Linked DNA regions of Homo sapiens: regions 1 and 2 are each linked to region 3. The links are contacts of gene promoters, found by promoter capture Hi-C in human tissues and cell types (Jung and others, 2019). All regions are on one chromosome and are shown on one strand. The core of a region is centred on a gene start or on the middle of the fragment in contact, and the rest is flanking DNA. Distances in the headings are between cores, read along the strand shown. Region 1 holds the start of RSPH6A (radial spoke head 6 homolog A). Region 2 overlaps IGFL2 (IGF like family member 2). Region 3 holds the start of PGLYRP1 (peptidoglycan recognition protein 1).

Evidence for each region. Contacts are between HindIII fragments. The study calls those that stand out against the background at their distance.
Region 1: the fragment with the promoter of RSPH6A here is called in contact with the fragment with the promoter of PGLYRP1 in region 3 in 1 of the 25 tissues and cell types used here (dorsolateral prefrontal cortex).
Region 2: a fragment that was not itself captured here is called in contact with the fragment with the promoter of PGLYRP1 in region 3 in 1 of the 25 tissues and cell types used here (bladder).

The regions. Positions count from the first base shown.
Region 1 is chr19:45,813,991-45,816,690 of GRCh38, reverse strand. RSPH6A (radial spoke head 6 homolog A) reads left to right here and starts at 1,383. Exons shown (of 6, transcript NM_030785.4): 1 at 1,383-2,164. The coding sequence starts at 1,515. SYMPK (symplekin scaffold protein) reads left to right here. Exons shown (of 27, transcript NM_004819.3): 25 at 114-209; 26 at 508-840; 27 at 994-1,281. The coding sequence ends at 1,131. The HindIII fragment of the contact is 35,300 bases long and covers 1-2,700 here.
Region 2 is chr19:46,155,314-46,158,013 of GRCh38, reverse strand. The region is part of intron 1 of IGFL2 (IGF like family member 2); the gene reads right to left. Among named protein-coding and RNA genes, the nearest start is that of IGFL2, 8.4 kb to the right of the region's middle. The HindIII fragment of the contact is 4,857 bases long and covers 1-2,700 here.
Region 3 is chr19:46,021,692-46,024,436 of GRCh38, reverse strand. It overlaps PGLYRP1 (peptidoglycan recognition protein 1), which reads left to right and starts at 1,384. Exons shown (of 3, transcript NM_005091.3): 1 at 1,384-1,702. The coding sequence starts at 1,416. RefSeq lists an enhancer at 1,891-2,745. The HindIII fragment of the contact is 20,258 bases long and covers 1-2,745 here.

The DNA.
Region 1 (2,700 bases), core at 134-2,633, 210 kb after region 3:
AGGCCCTGCACTGCTGGGAGTTCTGGAGGGTTAGGGCCCCCGGACCTGAGGTGTGCAAATGGGGTCTCTGTGCCAGAGCTGCCCCCAGCGCCCCCTTCCTGCTCTCCACCCAGCAAGCTCACATCCCTAACTCCATCATGACCATCTTGGAGGCCAGCGGCAAGCAGGAGCCAGAGGCCAAGGAGGCGCCTGCGGGGCCCTTGGAGGAGGTGAGGGCCCTGCAGCCCACCCATCTGGATCCCCAGACTCCCACCCCCTACCCCAAGCCAGCAAGGCTCACCATGGCCTCCTCCTGACCCCGAGAGACTCAGGCCACCCCTGCCTCTGGGCCACCCGTCTCCCAGGGGATGCTCCTGCTGGGAGTTGGGGGTCTGGGGGACAACTGCCCCTTCCTCCCCATGCTCTTGGTGAAGAACTCAAAGACCACCTCAGGGTGGTTCCTTCTCTTTCCGGCCGTCCTCTGAGCCACCCACCTCTGAGCTTCTGTGTGGCCCTCCCTATCCCCAGGATGATCTGGAGCCCCTGACCTTGGCCCCGGCCCCAGCACCCCGGCCCCCTCAGGACCTCATCGGCCTGCGACTGGCCCAGGAGAAGGCCTTAAAGCGGCAGCTGGAGGAGGAACAGAAGCTGAAGCCGGGAGGAGTGGGAGCCCCCTCCTCTTCCTCCCCCTCTCCCTCTCCGTCGGCCCGGCCAGGCCCGCCCCCGTCTGAGGAAGCCATGGATTTCCGGGAGGAGGGGCCTGAGTGCGAGACCCCGGGCATCTTCATCAGCATGGATGACGACTCGGGGCTGACCGAGGCCGCGCTGTTGGACTCTAGTCTCGAGGGCCCCCTACCCAAGGTAGGGAGAGCAGCCTCCGCTGCGAAGGAAGAAGCCGGATCTGGGCCGGGGTGAAGGTGGGGGAGGAGGGGCCATCAGGGGGCAGGGCCTGAAGGGGAGCGTGGAGGTGACCGCGCCCTCCACCCGGCTGCCCTTTCCTTCCCCGGTCACCAGGAGACGGCAGCGGGCGGGCTGACCTTGAAGGAGGAGCGGAGCCCCCAGACCCTCGCACCTGTTGGAGAAGATGCTATGAAGACTCCCAGCCCGGCTGCCGAGGACGCCAGGGAACCCGAGGCCAAGGGGAACAGCTGACGGGGCTCGAGGGGGAAAGGGGGTGGGACAGGGACTCGGGGCTGGGGGACGGGGCGGGGCTTGACCTGCGGGTGCTTTGCCTTAAAAAGAAATAAAAGATGTGAACTTGGGCAAGTTACTGAAAAGAAAAAAAAAAAGGGATGGCGGGCCTGGGGCGCGGGTGCCGTCTCGAGTCTGGCGCGACGTCCACCGTGGGGCTGCGCGGGATCGGGAGTGCGCGCCCAGAGCCTGCGCGGAACCCACCCTGGCCCGCTCCCCGCGCCCTCCACGGGTAACGGCCCCCTCTCTCGGTGCTCAGAAACCGGCGGTGTCGACAGGTGGCTCTCGCTTGGCCTCCTTGTCTGCAAGCCTTTCTCCTAGAGATCTGTGCCTCCTGGCGAACCATGGGAGACCTGCCGCCCTACCCTGAGCGCCCTGCCCAGCAGCCTCCGGGCCGGAGGACTTCTCAGGCCTCCCAGAGGCGGCACAGTCGGGACCAAGCTCAGGCCCTGGCAGCGGACCCCGAGGAGAGGCAGCAGATACCTCCAGACGCCCAGCGAAACGCCCCTGGTTGGTCACAGAGGGGCAGCCTGTCCCAACAGGAGAACTTGCTGATGCCCCAGGTCTTCCAGGCTGAGGAAGCCCGGCTGGGTGGCATGGAGTACCCATCTGTGAACACGGGCTTTCCCTCAGAGTTCCAGCCTCAGCCTTACTCTGATGAAAGCAGGATGCAGGTCGCCGAGCTCACCACCAGCCTAATGCTGCAGCGGCTCCAGCAGGGCCAAAGCAGCCTGTTCCAGCAACTGGACCCCACCTTCCAGGAGCCCCCAGTCAACCCCTTGGGCCAGTTCAACCTCTACCAGACAGACCAGTTCTCTGAAGGTGCCCAGCACGGGCCTTACATAAGGGATGACCCTGCCCTTCAGTTCTTGCCCTCTGAGCTGGGCTTCCCACACTACAGTGCCCAGGTGCCTGAGCCCGAGCCTCTGGAGCTGGCCGTGCAGAACGCCAAGGCCTACCTGCTGCAGACCAGCATCAATTGCGACCTCAGCCTGTGAGCAGGGGCTAGGAGTGGGGCGGGTGGGGGACCCAGGCAGGGAGGGGCCCCACCCGAAGTGCCTGCCTCAGTCAGTCAGACAAGGGATCATCCCTCATGGAAAACCAGTGACTCTAATTCAGCTGAGTCGGAATCAATGCCAACAACAGCTAGCATTCACTTCCCAGACATGTGCTGGCACTGCACACACTCACCTAATTCTCACCGGAGATGAGCACATCAGCTCATCCTACTTTACAGAGGAGGAGACCGAGACACAGAGAAGTTGGGTCGCTTACCCAAAACTACACAGCTAGGATATGGCAGAGTCAGGATTCCAGAACACGTGATTTGGCTCCCCAAGCCCTCTTGCTTTTTTTTTCCCCCAGACATAGTCTCACCCTGTCACCCAGGCTGGAGCACAGTGGCGTGGTCTTGGCTTAGGGCAACCTCTCCTTCCCAAGTTCAAGTGATTCTTCTGCTTCAGCCTCCCGAGTAGTTGGGGTTACAGGCGCGCTCCACTTCACCCAGCTAATTTTTGTATTTTTAGTAGA
Region 2 (2,700 bases), core at 24-2,523, 130 kb before region 3:
TTTCAATGTCCACATGTTCATTATTGGTATAAAGAAACACGATTGATTTTTTCTATGTTGATCTTGCATTCTGAAACCTTGCTAAACTCACTTATTAGTTATAGGAGTACATTTTTAGATTCCTTGGGACTGTTTACATAGACAGTTGTGTGGCCTACAAATATAGGAACAGTTTTATTGCTTCCTTTCCAATCTGTATAAATTGTAATTCTTTTTTTCCTTGACTTATTGCCCTGGTTAGAATGTCCAGCAATACACTGAATAAGAATGGTGAAAGCAGACTTCCTCTCCTTTGCTCAGTCTTAGGTGGAAAGCATTCACTTTTTCACCATTACTTATTATATTAGTTGTAGGGTTTTTGTAGATGGACTTTATCGAGTTGAGGAAATTCCCCCTATTCCTGTTTTTCTGGGAGTTTTTAAAATCACGAATGGGTGTTAAATTTTATCAGATGCTTTTTCAGCATCAATTGATGTGATCATGTCATTTTTCTTCTTTAGCATGTTAATATGATGGATTACACTGAGAGTGATTTTTGAAATATTCTGCCAGGCTTACATTCTGGAATAAGCCCTACATAGGCATGATGTGTAAGTATTTTTTTATATTGCTGAATTTAATTTACAAATATTTTGTCAAGGATTTTTGCATGAAGGATATTGGTCTATAGTTTCATTGCTTTGTTGTTGTCATTGTTCTTGTTTGTCTTTTTATGATTTTAGTAGCAAAATAACTCTGATTTTATGAAATGAATTGAATTCCCTCCTATTCTATTCTCTGGATGAGATTGTGCAGAATTGGTGTCAATTTCTTTTTAAACATTTGTTAGATTCTCAGGTGCAACCATCTGGGCTTGGAGATTTCCTTTTTAGGAGATATTTTAAATTCTGAATTCTATTTCCTTAATAGTTATAAGGCTACTAAAATGATGTATTTCATATTGGGTGTGTTGTGATCATTTGTGCTTTTAAATGGGTGGTCCATTTCATCTAAGTTGTCAAATTGTGTAGAGTTATTCCTAGTTTTCCACTATTATTCTTTTAGTGTCTGCAAAACCTATATCTCCTGTCTCATTCCTGATACTGACAATTTGTGTCTTCTCTTTGAATTTTTGAGAGTTTTGCTAAAACTATCAAAAGATTATTGATCTTTTCAAAGAATTAACTCTTTATTTCATTGATTTTCTAGACTGTTTTTCTGTTTTCAATTTTATCGACTCCTGCTCTCCTCTTTATTATTTCCTTCCTTCTTGCTTTGGGTTTATTTTGCTCTTTTATTTTTTCCTAGCTTCTTGATGTGGGAGCTTAGATTATTGATTTTTCCTTTTTTCTAATACAACTATTTAGCACAATAAGTTTCACACTTAGCACTGCTTTATATATGTTCCATAAATTTTGATATATTGTATTTTCATTTCATTAAGTTAAATATAGTTTTAAAAATCTTTGAGACTCATCTTTAAACCATGAGTTATTTAGAGTTGTGTTGCTTAGCTGCCAAGTGCTTGGAGATCTTTCTGTAGTCATTAGCTTGATCAAATTATGGTCAGACAACTTACTCTGTTAAACTTCAATACTTTAGAACTTGTTGAGGTTTGTTTTACGGCTCTAGATAGAAGCCAATTCTCCATTACCATTTACAATGATATCAAAAATAACAAATACCTAGAATTAAATCTAAAGAAAGGTGAGAAACCTCTGCAAAACTCTGCTGAAAGATACTAAAGAACACCTAAGTAAATGGGAAACATACCAGGTTTATGCTTTGGAAGACTCAATATAACAAAGATGTCAGTGTTCCCCAAATTGATCGATAAATTCAATGCAAACTCAATAAATATTACAGCAAGGTTTTGTATAAGTTAACAAAGTGATTCTAAAATTTATCAGAAAGTGATGGTTGGGCACGGTGGCTCACACCTGTAATCCTAGCACTTTGGGAGGCTGAGGCAAGAGGATTGCTTGATCCCAGGAGTTCAAGACCAGCCTGGGCAACACAGTGACACCCTGACTCTATACATATTTTTTTTAAAAATTACCAGAAAATGAAAATGACAAGATAGCCAATACAATATTGAAGAAACTAAACAAAGTTATACGACTTACCCTAACAGATCAGGAAGTTTCATAAAACTATAATAATTTAGAGCGTGGTATTGCGAAAGATAAATAATTTTATCAATGGAATGAAACAGAGTTCAGATACAGATCCACACACAGACAATCAGTGATTTATCACAATTGTACCACTACAACTCACCAGGCAAAGATTAGTCCTTTTAATAGATATCTATATTGGGGGGGAATGTATCTTGACCCTTATCTCACACAAAATGTGAAAATTAATTTGAAATGGATCATAGACTTAAATGCAAAATATTTCAAACTATAAAGCAGGACTTCCAGAAGTCAGTGTGAAGAGCATGGGTGCCTTCCTCCCGGCAAAACAACCATTTAACTGATGAAAATTATTTTTTTTATAAAAACAACTAGTTAAGTCTCAGGAAATTGTCCTAAGGGCATACAGCAAATAAAGAAATGTTTATTCAAGAAATTCCACTCAATCTGTATAGAGCAGCGAGAGTCTGAGGGCATTTAAGCCACAAATTATCCCTATTCCCCACATCCCCAGCCAACTCTGTGTAATTGAAGCTCTATGCTGGGTAGTCACGGACAAGAAAATGGGACTCCACCTCTCCCC
Region 3 (2,745 bases), core at 135-2,634:
TGCAACTATTATAAAGAATAAATTAGAATTAGATGTACTGCCCTGGTGAGATGCCCATGAAATATTAGGTGACAAAAGGTAAATTGATGCACATGGTTTTGATTTTTTTTTTTAATGTCCTTATATAAGTTTGTAGGGAGGAGAATACGGTTTATAACTCTGCAGGCAGAAAGCCTGTAGCCAAACCCTGGCTTCATCACCTCCTGTATGTGATCATCCCCCCGGGCCTCAGTTCCGTCAACTGTAAGAGGGGTTAATAATAACATGGATCTGGCAAGCTTGTCGTTGAGTATATGATAATTTCTGAAAAGTGCTACAGATGCCTGGTGCACAATTCAGTAACAGCATGAGTACAATGTATATGAGAAGGCAGAACACAGAAGATGAAAACACACCACACAGGTCAGGCACGGTGGCTCATGCCTATAGTAATCCCAGCACTCTGGAACACTGGCAGGTGGCTCACCTGAGGTCAGGAGTTCGACACCAGCCAGGCCAACATGGCAAAACCCCGTCTCTACCAAAAATATAAAAATTAGCTGGGCGTGGTGGTGTGCACTTGTAATCCCAGCTACTCAGGAGGCTGAGGCAGGAGAATCACTTGAAGCCAGGAGGCGGAGGTTGCAGTGGCCCAAGATCGCACCATTGCACTCCAGCCTGGGTGACAAGAGCAAAACTCCATCTCAAAAAAAAAAAAAAAAAAAAAGGAAAATATTATTTATAAAATAGAAAATTAAAAAAAAAATTTTAAATACACATTTTTAAAAACCACTTGCAGGCTCTCACACACTGCATATCCAGGATTCACATGCAGGCAGCCTGGCTCTAGACGCGGGGCTCCAGTGCCTCCGGTGTCTCAGCCCGTGACTTCCCTGCTCTCAACCTCAGTTTACTCCACTGTGAAATGGACTTCCAGATACTCACCTCTTGAGTTTGCTGCAAGCGTAAATGGCATCAGGCTTGGACCTGGGGGAAGGAAGTGTTTTTAAAATGGGTAGCTTTGTTACCTCAGTCCTTGCGGGGAGAAGATGTGCCAATGCCCCGGGCCTCTGCGATGTAAGTTCCTGTTGAGTTGTTCAATGTTCCACTGAGAGGAGAGACAAGCAGGACCGGGATCCCGGCCCCGGGTCTTCCAGAAACGGCGGGGCGAAGCGCCCAGGGGCCTGTGCGTCCCTCCCTGCTGAGCGAGGGGGCCTGTCATTGCCGTGGGCGTGACCCAGACCCCAACCACAGTGCATCCCGCCCTGGCCCAGCCAGAGAAGGAAGCTGAGTCTGGGGTCTGCTGGGCCAGCAGGAAGTCCCAGCAGGGTGTGAAGCAAGACTTTCCGGGCCACTCCTGGAATCCCCCAGCAGATAAAGGCGGCCCCTCCACCGGGCGCTCCTAGCGGTCTCCCGGACCCTGCCGCCCTGCCACTATGTCCCGCCGCTCTATGCTGCTTGCCTGGGCTCTCCCCAGCCTCCTTCGACTCGGAGCGGCTCAGGAGACAGAAGACCCGGCCTGCTGCAGCCCCATAGTGCCCCGGAACGAGTGGAAGGCCCTGGCATCAGAGTGCGCCCAGCACCTGAGCCTGCCCTTACGCTATGTGGTGGTATCGCACACGGCGGGCAGCAGCTGCAACACCCCCGCCTCGTGCCAGCAGCAGGCCCGGAATGTGCAGCACTACCACATGAAGACACTGGGCTGGTGCGACGTGGGCTACAAGTGAGTGTGGCAGGGGGGCACGGGCTGGACTGGGGATCCCAGAGGCAAAGGTGTGCAAGTGCCCGCCAGCGGGACCATTTCTAGGCCTGGTGCTGAGGCCACCTGGCTGACACCCTGAGCAGCTTACTGAACCTCACAAGGTCATTTCTTCCTCGGGTCACCACGTGGGCCGGGGCAGGTGCTCACAGCACAAAGATGCGTGAGAAGGGGGGATGGGCTGAAATCCAAGCCCCGCTCCCGCTCCCGGGAAGAAGGGGCAGGCTTTGCCTAACACACACCAAGGTGTCCGCGACGCCTTATGAAGGCGCCCCTTCCTGATGCCTGGTGCCTTTGTTAGGAGGCGGAAAACCAGGCTGACTCAGTGCGGAGCTGGGTTCCAGGGTCAGCTCATCTTATTGCTGGCTGAGGCCTGGGGCGGGTCCTCCCGGCTTCAGCTTCCTCCTCGGCAAAGTCAATGGAATCGCGGCCCATCTGCTCCTTATATGAGCCAATACAGGCAAAGCACCTAGGAACTGCCTGGCACACGGGGGCCCGCAAAGCCACGGGCTATTACCATTAGGCACCTACTATGTGCCAGGCAGTGTGCCAGATGTGGCATGGAGAACGGTGCCACTCTAGCCTCCTGGGGTTGAAAGACCAGCAGGGAGAAACAAGCCAAGGCCACAGGTGAATTCAGACGGTGATAGAGGCGATGGATAAAAGGAAAGAGGTGAGGGAGGGTGACCTCAGGCTGGGACCAGACCCACACAGGCTCCTTGGAAGGGTGGGGCAAGGGAAAGCCTCCCTGAGAGTGGCTGCCTTGGCTCTGGGATGGGGGAGCAGACAGAGGCCTGCAGGTGGCAGGGGGTGCTGGGGGCAAAGCCAACGGGGTTGAGTGGGCGGGTCCTGTGGGAAGGACAGGGTGGCTGAACACAGCCGGGCGAGCGGAATGAAATGAGGAAAGGGCAGGACCAGGCAGGGCTTTGTGGACCACAGTGAGGACTGTAGCTTTTACTCCGAGATGGGAGCCATGGGAGGCTTCCCCCCGCAGAGCAGGGACCAGG